4 separate regions of the Homo sapiens genome follow, and all the other regions are linked to region 1. The links are contacts of gene promoters, found by promoter capture Hi-C in blood cells and fetal thymus (Javierre and others, 2016). All regions are on one chromosome and are shown on one strand. Each heading gives the region's core, a stretch centred on a gene start or on the middle of the fragment in contact. The rest is flanking DNA. Distances are from core to core; before and after follow the strand shown. Region 1 holds the start of CEP120 (centrosomal protein 120). Region 2 holds the start of ALDH7A1 (aldehyde dehydrogenase 7 family member A1). Region 3 holds the start of MARCHF3 (membrane associated ring-CH-type finger 3). Region 4 holds the start of PRRC1 (proline rich coiled-coil 1).

Region 1 (2,902 bases), core at 335-2,834:
TAAACTAACAGTTAATAGTGCTCCAAATCTTTATGGCTTTTCTGGTCAGTCTCTTGTTCCAAAATTCAAAGATTAGGATTACAATGTTTCCTTTGCTCTCATCCCTCACACAGTGCCAGGCCTTTATAAAACACTCTCCCATGGGGGAAAAAATGCAGCCAGGCTTCTGCTCTGGCTCAAGATGACTCCTTCTTAACATACTATTCGTAAAGTGTCCTCAATTCACCTGTTATCTCCTATGCCCTCCACTTTCTTGCAAATCTGTTCTCCAACCACACTGAATTTAACCAATGTTTACTGAGTGAATTTAATTAAGCAAGGCAAAACGTGTCTTGCTTTTCCATACTTTAAGTGCTCCCTGCTCTTCTCTTTGCCTGGAATGCCCTTCCTTTTTTCACCTGACAAATTCCTAATCATCTGTAGGACCCCAAAAAATGCCACCTCCTCTAGTGAAACTTCCGCAGTTTCCTTAGACAGAGGTGGTCATTCATTAGGGTCTTCCACATCCTGATGAATTATTTGCTGACACACTCTCCTTGCTACATCCTTAGCTTTTTAGAATCAGGACTGTTTCATTCTTACATTCCCAGCACAGTGTCTGACACTCAATGAGTCCCAATAAACCAATGTCATTCATCCAAAACACACCTTTTAAGGAATGTATAATACACCCTCTTAAGAACTGTAGTCCCCTGAGTCCTCCAGCAAGACGTGTAAAGGGAATTGCCTCCGGAACACTTCTGGAATCGCAGGAAGCCTGTATTCAAGTCAAAGCTCTTACAAGTGCTATTATTGGGAACCGCTGATCAGAACGCGCTTCTCAGGACCACGTTCAGCTCATATATAAAAGCCATCGACGTGCTGCTTTGGATGAAAATCGTTTTCTCTAGATTCTCTGGGGCTACGGCTAGTCACGCTAAATATCACTTATCCCTAATAGCGCTCATATCCCTGGAGAGATTTTTAAATCAATTGCCTAACAGACCTCACTACGTACAACTTTGAACAAGTCTGTGGGGACCACAAAAGCACAGATGACAGGGTTCTTAAGGTTAACAAGGCCTCGGTCCCACACTAAGCTTTTAAAACTCGGGAGGCAGCAGTTGCAAAAGCAAGCCTCAGGCTGCTCACCTTCTAGGATGGACACGACGATGAGCAATTGGTCGGATTTGGAGACCATGGTTGCGGTGAGCGGTCCGGGGGCGAAGGCGGCTGGGGGGAAGTGAGGTCCAGTTGAGTCGCGGGTAATCCGGGACCCCCGGCGGGACCCCCACTGCCCGCCCCCGGTCCCTGATGCCCGGACCCCGCTCCGCAGCCAGGTCCCACCGCCGTCTGCTGCAGCGCGCCCGGCTCCTCTGCCTCGGGCCGCCAGCCCAGATCCTAACTGTGCCCCGACTCAAGGAAAAAGCCACGCTGCAGCCCTGCCAGTCTGCAAGCAGAGACAAGCCCGCCACCCGAGGACCTTTTGCCGCCTGCGTAGCCGCTTTTCAAACGCCCGGGCGGCCGCAGCGGCCGCCGCCGCGCCCAGCTTCCGCCTAGCAACCAGGCCCGCAGGCCCAGTGCCCAGGGGAGGTTGGAGGACAACGGGTGATAGAGACAGAGCAGTCAAGGCTAGAACGCCCGTCAGCGAGCTTCGCCTCCCGCCCTTTTACGCTCTGTTCCAGAGCCCTAAGGAGGACGCCTTCATTACCTCACAGCGCCCTCTGCTAGCCGGACGAGGAGAGGCGGGCGACTTGGTGTGGGACCAGCTGCGCAAGCGCACTACTGCTGTAAACGCTTCCTGAAGCTGCGTAGCCTTTAAGGAGCGTGAGTGTAGCGTATTACCTGCTTTATGCTTCAGCCACAACCTGAGAGTTATATTAGTGGGGATTAAAAAAACAAAAAAACCTAGCTTAGTTGACGTACCCAGTGTCAACACTGCTTAAAAAATTAAATCACAAAAAAATAATGACTTAAATCTAAACTCTAAAGTCCCTAAATCGTGCTCACGCGGCACCTCAAATTTCCGACCTTTGAAAACAAGTAGCTTCAATACGGTAATTACTGTACTTGTTAAAGCTGACGTAAACTCCCCGAGAATTTCCTGTCCCTTAGAAATTACCCCTAAAACAAAAACACTGTCACGTGGGCAATGAAATATAAAGGTTCTTCCACCCCCGATGACAAAGTTATTAGCAAACTCAAAACCAAAAATAAACAAGGCATTGAGGTGCTGTCTGCCGACCCTTTCCCCTTAACGTCTCCCAAATTCAGATTTAAGAAACGGTTCAAGACTTGTAAAGGGAACGGCCTCCTAAACACTACTCAAATTGCAAGAAGCATGTATTCAAGTCAAAGGCAAAGTTCTTTTGGAGGTTATCTAGCTTGAAACTTAAATAACCGAATTGGTTGGAGCGATCGTGGACACTATTAAGTTTGGGAAAAATTCTGCTTCGGAAAACAAAAGTAAATCATAATAAAATAAAGCTGCAGAGATAGCACTAGGTAGTGGACATAAGTGCGGCTTCTCCTATTACTTTCTGGTTTTGTAAATTGAGAAGTTGTTTTGAGAGCAAATATAATATCTCGCTGTTTTCTTTTTCTTCTATTGCTTCCTTGTTTTGGAAATTTAGAAGTTATTTTGAGAGCAAATAATATAATATCACTATTGTTTTCTTCTTCCTCTTCTTTATTCTTCCTTCTTTGCTTTCTGCCCAAAAGAAAAGGAGGAATATGTAGAGATTGGACTAATTACTTCTAAGGCCCTTTCAGGTCCTATCACAGGCATTCTTAAAATGAAGCACTATTCAATGTAAAATCAAAGTAATGATCTACTTTGGATTCATCATTGAACAATGCATTATTTTTGTGGAAGATGTCAAACATACTTTAAAGAAAGCAGAATGATATAATGAACCCCCAG
Region 2 (2,700 bases), core at 200-2,699, 3.2 Mb after region 1:
GGCCAAGGCAGGAAAACTGTTGGAAAGTCCCGTGTCCACACCAACTGGAGAGGTCTCAGGTCAACAATGAAAGGGAAAATCAAGGCACAGCTAAAAAGGCCTCCAAGAGCCTAATGATCAGATACCACACGGAAATCAGGATGAAACACCGAGGTCTGAGGAGCAATTAAAATTATCTGTATCTCCTACAGCCACTGATTACCAAAAGACGTGTTCCCTCTACCAAGGCAGGTTCATTATATAATATACAACGTCCAACAAAGTTTGTTAACTGTTACATAACATCCTCCTATAAAAAACTTTCTTTTAAAAAAAAATCTGGGCGATAATAACCTTACCTTTCCATTGTATTCTATAAAACATTGTTTTGAGCAGTAATGGGTATCAGGCGCGGTGTTAAGCCCTGGGCAATGGAGAAATGCTGAAAATCCAGTCCTCAAAGGAGTTCACAGCCCAACGTACAACATGGCAAGATTTCGGCACGTCCAAGCTTGCAAACTCCCAAAGAATTCAGGAAGGAAGATAACTTAAAACTACACTGAAGAACGTTACCTGCGGTGCACGTCACAGCTGAAGAGCCAGAGTTAAGCTCTAAATTAAGATCAGTTGCACCGCTCAGTGTGCCACATTTCTCACAAGACCATAGATCCCAAGACCATAAGGTTTTAATTTTTTTTTTTTTTTTTTTTTTTGAGACGGAATTTCGCTCTTGTTGCTCAGGCTGGAGTGCAATGGCACGATCTCGGCTCACTACGACCTCCACCTCCCGGGTTCAAGCGATTCTCCTGCCTCAGCCTCCCTAGTAGCTGGGATTACAGGCATGCGCCACCACGCCCGGCTATTTTGTATTTTTTTTAGTAGAGACAAGGTTTCTCCATGTCGGTCAGGCTGGTCTTGAACTCGCTACCTCAGGTGATCCGCCCGCCTAGGCCTCCCAAAGTGCTGGGATTACAGGGGTGAGCCACCGCGCCCGGTAGACCATAATGTTTTAAATATGCGCGGGAAGTTTAGCCCCTACAGCTCCAAAATGACGTCGATTCTGCATAGCACACAAGGACCTAAAATCTAAGTTTTTGTTTTAAAGGCACCCTACACGAGAAAACTTTTACTGTGGAGCTTCAAAATCTCCCATGCTACTACCGCATCCAGCGCCAGCGGGGAGTCGGTAGGTCAGTGCCCGCCCGGCCTCCTCGAGCGAGCCCCGGCGGCTGCAGAGATTTCTTGAGCGCCCGCGTACCTCTCCCCGGCCTCCCCAGCTTCCATTATACACGCCCTCGTTTTCCTCGCGGAGCCCCAGCTCTTTCAGCCACGCATACTGGGGCTGATTGATGAGGAGAGTGGACATGAAGGCGGCAGGCCTGCTCCAAGGTCCAGAGAGCTTGCTGGTCTTTGCAGCGTGCACACACAGCGCGCGAGGAAGGCGCCACATACTGAGCCCGGGACTCGGGATGAGCCCAAGGCCCTGAGAGCTGCTGAAATAGAGCCCCGCCCCCCGCCCGGGAGAACCCATTGGGCAGACCCGACCCCTCCCACTGGGCACGACCCCGCCACCGCCCCGTCTGCCCCTGGTCTTCCGGAGGAGCCTGCGGCTGAATCCTGCCTGGAACAATGGGAGTGCTACAGGGAGGAGTGGGCTGCTGCCATCTGGTGAAAGACTCCGGGAGCCACAGTTCCAGCTGGGAATTCTTTTCAGCAAAATATTGGCGCTGAAGTACAGTAGGCTATAGCAGGGGTTCTGAAACTGTAAAATGCGTGTAATGACCTGGTCGTCGTGGTAAATGCACATTCTGATTCAGTAAGTCTGGGCTAGGGTCGGAGAGCCGACATTCCTAACCAGCTCCTCAGCGATGGTGACGCCTCTTGTCCCTGGAGTAGGCAACGGAGGGTTTGTATTGGGGGGCGGGGGAAGGGTTGGTTGTTTTCACTGTTTTGGTAGATTACAAATTAAAGTTTTCTAATTAATGATAAATATTAGATTGCTGCATTTCCTCTATAAATATCCTGCCTGGGTATATTCTTACTTTTTTTTTTTTTTTTTTTTTTTGGAAACGGAGTTTCGCTCTTCTTGCCCAAGCTAGAGTGCAACGGCGCGATCTCGGCTCACTGCAACCTCCGCCTACCGGGTTCAAGCGGATTCTCTTGCCTCAGCCTCCTGAGTAGCTGGGATTACAGGTGTGCACCACCACACCCGGCTAATTTTTTGTATTTTTAGGACAAACGGGGTTTCACCATGTTAGTCAGGCTGGTCTGGAACTCCTGACCTGAGATGATCTGCCCGCCTCAGCCTCCGAAAGTGCTGGGATTAGAGACATGAGCCACTGCGCCCGGCCTCTTACTTTTTTTTTTTTAAGATGGAGTCTCGCCCTATCGCCCAGGCTGGAGTGCAATGGCACGATCTCCACTCACTGCAACTTCAACCTCCCAGGTTCAAGTGATTCTCCTGCCTCAGCCTCCCCAGTAGCTGGGATTACAGGTGCACACCACCACACCAGCTAATTTTTGTATTTTTAGTAGAGACGGGGTTTCTCCCTGTTGGCCAGGCTGCTCTCGAACTCCTGACCTCGTGATCTGCCCGCCTCTGCCTCCCAAAGTGCTGGGATTACAGGCGTGAGCCACTGTGTCCGGCCTATTCTTACATTTTTTTTTTTTTTTTGAGACGTAGTCTCGCACTGTTGCCAGGGCTGGAGTCCAGTGGCGCAA
Region 3 (2,754 bases), core at 6-2,505, 3.6 Mb after region 1:
ATTTTCATGTATTTTCAAAGGTCTAAACATCCCCAAATTCTGGACCTGTTTCTGTCTAGTATTTTCAAAAGCTCTTATTCATGTCAAATAAGAATTGTAAGAAAATATCGTATTGAATTCTGTTTATTCCGCACATAATATAAACTACATGCATGTAGTTGGTCTCAGAAAAACAAGCTGCTTTTACCCCCTTACCATTAAGGGGGGAAAACAATCTAACCCAGACCGAGTCACAAACGGAGTGTCAGGTTTAACCTTGAGTTCTCTGCTGTCAATTCCTGACTCAACTTCATCACTTAAACACGCAGGTGCTCAAACAAACACCAACCGACCAGGCTGGCAATCCCTTTCGCAGCCTCTAGGATTCTCCAAGGCACTGGGCACCAGAACCGACAGCAGCTCCCGCCTGGTCCTAACGAAGTCCTTCGGACACCCCTTGCGGGTGGATGTGGAGGTCCGAGCACCTCAGGAGGGTCATGGATTCAAGTGCTAATAGAAAGCAATTACTTTAGAAAGTTCAAAGCCCAGCAGTGCTCTCAATTCCTCTCAGTAGCTGCAGAGCACTGAAGCCCCCGCTACAGAACCCGGCTGGTACTCCAGTTCTCTGGCGCTGAGACCCACCTTGAGCCCGATGAGCGCTCGCTCAGCCTTGAGATCCAGACGCGGACGCCGGGTCTTACCGTACCGCACAGCGCGGGTAATTTTTCAGGAACCGCGGTCCGCACGCCGCGGGCGCGGAGGCCGCCCCAGCGCTCCATGTCGTTGCCGCAGAGGGGCAGGGGACGCGTCCCGGCCCCACCTACCCATGTCAATTACGCCAAGTTGGTGCGGACTGGAACCGCGTCCCGGGCGGAGTTGGGATGCTTTGACAAGAAGAAGTTCGGGAGTGGGGATATTGGCACGGAGTAAATCCCGCCCAGCCCTGACCTCCCCACAGCGGTCACGCTCGGACGAACGGACCGCCGAGCGCCAGGACGCGTCCCGTCCCCTCTCGCCGCCGCCGAACCGCGCCGAGAGGAGCCGCTAGCCCGGCGCGCGGCCACTCACCGTCCTCGCCGAGTCCCGATAGCAAACCGACGTCCCTGCTGCGGTTCTAAGTGCCAAGTTGCCCCCAGTCGGTGGCTGCTCACGGCCCAGTGGACCAGGGCACATTGGTTCCGGCGGGCACCTCAGGGGGAGTGCGGCAAGCCTGGCGGCCGCCGCGGCCACACAGTCGCCCACAGCGCGCTGACAATTCACGGACCTGCTCAACGAGTGAGGCGGAAAGCAGGGCTAAGCCGACCAGGCTCTGGAGGGGAGGCGGGGCTGCCGCTAGGGGCGGAGCCAGCCCCGGGGCGTCATCAGCCCATGACTGGCGGAGCCGACAGCCAGTCGTGGTGGCGCTGGGACCGCCCCGTAACCGCCGTCCAGTCGCCTGCGGCCGAGGGCAGGCTGGCGGGACGCGCCGGCGGCGGGGAAGTTGGTTATTGCGAAGTGCCGTGGCTGCCGGCGGGCGCTGCGGGACTCTCTGCAATGGGACCCGAGCAGCTCTAGAGGGAGGCGGCGGCCCCAGAAGGCCGTTGGCTGAGAGAGACCAGGAGCCCTCGGAGCCGCCGCGCGCATAGCGCTGTGGAGCAAGAAGCCAACCGCAGCGCGGGTCGACACGCCAGTATCTGGCACCGGCAGGAGGCGCGGAACTTAGCTGCCCCATCGGAACCCCGCCCGGAGGAAGCTGAGGGCCGAGAAAGGATGAATTCCGGACCGGGTCGCCCAGCCACAAGTGGAAACCTGGGCTCTCTGGAAAACGTTCTGATCTCGATCTGGCTATCTCTGAAACAAAACTCCAGCCCCGCAAACCTCCCAAAGTTCAGTACACGTCCCCGTCCTCACCCCTGCCCTCCGGGCCACCTGCAGCGGGGGACTTACCGGCGCCTCGGGTCTCCTCCTCCCGACCCAGCGCGTCGCGGACACAGCTGGCGGCCAACAGGAGGCTTGGGCGCTCGACGGCGCCGGAACCTGTGAGACCGTCGCTCTGGGCGGGCTGCCGTGCGGGGTGGCATCCTCTGCGGTGACTTCTGCTGTCTTTTGGGTCCGCCAGGATTCCAAAATCCCAGGCGGGTCGCTAGAATTATCCATCTTCGTGGACAGGAAGCCCCAGAACGAACCACATCTGTCCCACTCTGCTTCCGCCCTCCTTCCCCTTCGCAAGCTCCTGGCTGGGATGGAGACATCGGACGAGCTCGGAGATCCCGACCTCTCAGGGGTCACTCGCAGCCGAACAGCCTGGAATATGGCCTTGTGGGCCCTTCCCGCCCAACCCCCTAGGACCCCACTGCTCATCTTGTCAACCAGTTTCTGAGCCCCTACCCTGGCTGCAGCACGTGCTCGCACAGGCGCGCTGAGCTACTAACATAGAATCAAAAGCAGGGAGTTGGGTGTTCTTGCTTTCCCGCTGAAACCTAGAATGTAAACAAGCCCTAGACCGTCAGCTGTGGGTGGGTAGGGGCCTCTCCCTGCCTAGAACTGCTCTTGCCATGGGTAGGCACCTAACCCGTATTAGTAAGAATGAAGGAATGCATGCTCATAACAAGAAAGGGGTCAACCTGCTGCCCTGATACTCACCTTCACCACTTACGTCTTGCTTCCAGCGCAAGCCCACTTCAGACCATTGCCTCATTCAGGTCCCAGAAGTCCTAAGGGTTTTAGTCTCTCAGTATGGGCAATTATTCACATGTAAGGGAGCTGCAAGGTGTTATTTCAATGCCATCTGGCCTC
Region 4 (2,700 bases), core at 197-2,696, 4.1 Mb after region 1:
ACACACATTCTTAGAGGATAGGAGCCACCGCCAAAGAAAACCGCCCATGGTAGTTGCACAGTGAGATCTGAAGTCAGAGTATTGCTACATAGTATTAACTTTTCAGTGAGGTATTTTGGAATGCTTACAACTGTGAAGCTCAAGAGATAGATTAATGTGAAATCTCTAAGTGAGTTCCTGAAAAAAAATTGAGAACAACAAAAACAATTTTTTATATATTTAATGCTAAGCAATTTAAAAAATGTTTTCGGACAGGTGCGGTGGCTCACGCCTGTAATCCCAGCACTTTAGGAGGCCGAGGCGGGCCGAGGTCAGGAGTTCGAGACCAGCCTGGCCAAAATGGTGAAACCCTGTCTCTACTAAAAGTACAAAAATTAGCTGGGTGTGGTGGCCTGTGCCTGTAATCCCAGCTACTCGGGAGGCTGAGGCAGGAGAATCGTTTGAACCCGGGAGGCAGAGGTTGCAGTGAGCCGAGATGGCGCCATTGCACTCCAGCCTGGGCAACAGGGCAAGACACCATCTCAAAAAGACAAAAAGTTTAAAAAATTTTCATATGCTCTATTTTATTTGAGTCTGTCACCTGCCTGATTTAGGGATGGTGGATAGTATTATTCTCAGTTTGCAGGTAGAAATATGAAGACTTATGGAGACTAAGTGACCTGTACAAGGGCAGGCAACTGTACAACTGGCATTAGAGTAGTCTCAGACTCAAATCAAGACTTCTGATTTGAAGTTCCTTATTTTCCTCTATCGCACTCCATTAATTTATTTAATGTACATTATTGAACACCAACTATTTCAGGTACTGTGTTAGGTGCAGCATATAATAAGAAAGTTGATAATCTGTCTATTTTACAATTAAAAAAAGAATGTGCAATACATGCACTTGGGGAAAAATTCAGTACAGTAACTGCTACTCTTCTCCCCTCTCCCTCTTCTCCTAATCCCTCTCTCCTGATATAATCACTGTTATCTGGAAATCTTTGACTATACAGGCTAAGTCCCCTGTATCTGCCGCGAGGTCCTTCCTGGAGGTGCTGACTGGACTAGCTGATGTTGGCTAGATGACCGCCAACCAGATGACCTTGGCTAACTGATCTTATCCCTTGGGCCGCTGTGGCACAGGATGAGTGAGCTACGCCTGGTAACAAGAGTGCCACTCTCGTGTAAGGGGGCTGCGAAGTAGAAAGGAGGCCAGCCCTTTGGAAGATGTTTCTAGAGGGTGTGGGCAGAACCAAGTCTCGGTAGTTAGGAAGATCTTGGCTCCAAAGTTTAACTTGCAGCGTCCCGGCCGGGTTCACAGCGCATGGGACAGGGGGGGCGGGGCGATGCGGAGGCGGAGCGGGGCGATGCGATGCGGGGCGGAGCGGGGCGGGGCGGCGACGCGCGGCGCGGTGCGGCGCGCGGCCGACGTGGCAGCCGCAGGAGCATGCGCCGCCCGTGGCCATCTTGTAGGCGGGGACACGCCGAGGTAACTTCCAGGGTGCGCCTTCGTTGTCTTCTCCAAGCTGTAGTTCTACGTCCCGACCTCCCTATCATACCACACTCTTCAGCGACCACGCAGGCACTTTCCCGGTCCCCAGGTGAGCGCCAGGTGGCTCCGAGGGGCGTGTATGAGGGGGGTGGCATGGCATGGCATGGCTTGCAGGCGCCAGAGCCAGACCCCGAGGGACGGTGTCCCTGGAAGGTGGGCGGGCCGGCCGGCGCCACTGGACGCCGATGTCGTTTGCGAGCCCCCTAGTCCCGTGGTCCAGGCTCAGCTGTGGCGGCGTGCGGGGTGCAGCAGGCAGGAGTGCACATCGCAAGGTGAGCAGTTTCCGCTGGGGATGGCACGGTGGGCGCGGTTCGAGGGTCTCGCCCCGCGACACTTTGCTCCTGTCCAAGGACCAAGGCAGGAGCGCTCTGGCCCCACCTTCCAGGGCGCTGACTTTAGGGGAGACTGGCGGGAGCGCCGGCGGACCTTAGCCCGGCCCTGTCTGGCCTGGAGACGTGGCAGAGCCTGAGGGGAAGCCGCTGTCTCCTGAAACAGGATTTCGGCCGCTCTGGCCCTGGAGAGGCCCAGGAGGCTCGAGAGTCATCACACCAGGACCTGCAATGAAAGGAAGCTTATTTTCCCTGAGGTTACCCCATCGGTGCTTAGCGCCGCTTGGGAGAGTTTTTGCATTCTCTCGTTTCTTTGTTTGGTCTTGGGACCTGCTTCAGGCAAATTTGCAGATAGCACGTTTCCTAGATTGACAGAATTTATAGCCAATAGTGTTTTTGTCATTCGAAGTAGTTATTTTGAGAGACAACATGTGCATTTCTGCGATCGTGACACATCTTGGCATTCAGTCTTTCTCCTGTGCAGCCAGTGTTTAATTCAGTGAAAATTTATAAAATTTTATTTCGGGGTCAGATTAGGCTCTAACTAGCGCTCACTGTTTGGTAGTAGAGACAATCTTGTGGCACGAGTAGGTCAGCAATAATTGCTCTTAATGCTTTAAAGTTTATCAGAGCTTCACTCTTCCATTTCTTGTAAACTTGTAAATAGACATCCACTTTTTTTTTTTTTTTTTAACAGAAAAACCAAGGCACAAGCAAATTGGAACAACAGGGTCTAGCCGGACTGAGAACTCAGTTTTCCAAACCATTTTCTTCACTTTTTCTTTAGTGTTGATATATGAATAGTACTTTTCGTGACAAGACTTGAGCCCTAAAACA

Evidence for each region. The method cuts DNA at HindIII sites, captures the fragments that hold promoters and counts their contacts. A CHiCAGO score of 5 or more calls a contact.
Region 2: a contact is called between the fragment with the promoter of ALDH7A1 here and the fragment with the promoter of CEP120 in region 1, in 1 of 17 cell types (M0 macrophages). The highest score is 5.1, in M0 macrophages.
Region 3: a contact is called between the fragment with the promoter of MARCHF3 here and the fragment with the promoter of CEP120 in region 1, in 1 of 17 cell types (monocytes). The highest score is 8.8, in monocytes.
Region 4: a contact is called between the fragment with the promoter of PRRC1 here and the fragment with the promoter of CEP120 in region 1, in 2 of 17 cell types (non-activated CD4 T cells and fetal thymus). The highest score is 6.5, in non-activated CD4 T cells.

What each region holds. Positions count from the first base shown.
Region 1 is chr5:123,421,819-123,424,720 of GRCh38, forward strand. CEP120 (centrosomal protein 120) reads right to left here and starts at 1,585. Exons shown (of 20, transcript NM_001375405.1): 1 at 1,132-1,585. The coding sequence starts at 1,180. RefSeq lists an enhancer at 851-1,796 and a silencer at 1,126-1,285. The HindIII fragment of the contact is 3,797 bases long and covers 1,078-2,902 here.
Region 2 is chr5:126,593,770-126,596,469 of GRCh38, forward strand. It overlaps ALDH7A1 (aldehyde dehydrogenase 7 family member A1), which reads right to left and starts at 1,450. Exons shown (of 18, transcript NM_001182.5): 1 at 1,238-1,450. The coding sequence starts at 1,429. The HindIII fragment of the contact is 2,913 bases long and covers 489-2,700 here.
Region 3 is chr5:127,029,303-127,032,056 of GRCh38, forward strand. It overlaps MARCHF3 (membrane associated ring-CH-type finger 3), which reads right to left and starts at 1,256. Exons shown (of 5, transcript NM_178450.5): 1 at 1,048-1,256. It overlaps LOC105379163 (a long non-coding RNA gene), which reads left to right and starts at 2,041. Exons shown (of 2, transcript XR_007058920.1): 1 at 2,041-2,754. RefSeq lists a silencer at 1,218-1,597 and an enhancer at 1,594-2,138. The HindIII fragment of the contact is 7,560 bases long and covers 1-2,754 here.
Region 4 is chr5:127,516,194-127,518,893 of GRCh38, forward strand. PRRC1 (proline rich coiled-coil 1) reads left to right here and starts at 1,447. Exons shown (of 9, transcript NM_130809.5): 1 at 1,447-1,583. RefSeq lists a silencer at 1,315-1,384 and an enhancer at 1,445-1,624. The HindIII fragment of the contact is 4,735 bases long and covers 1-2,103 here.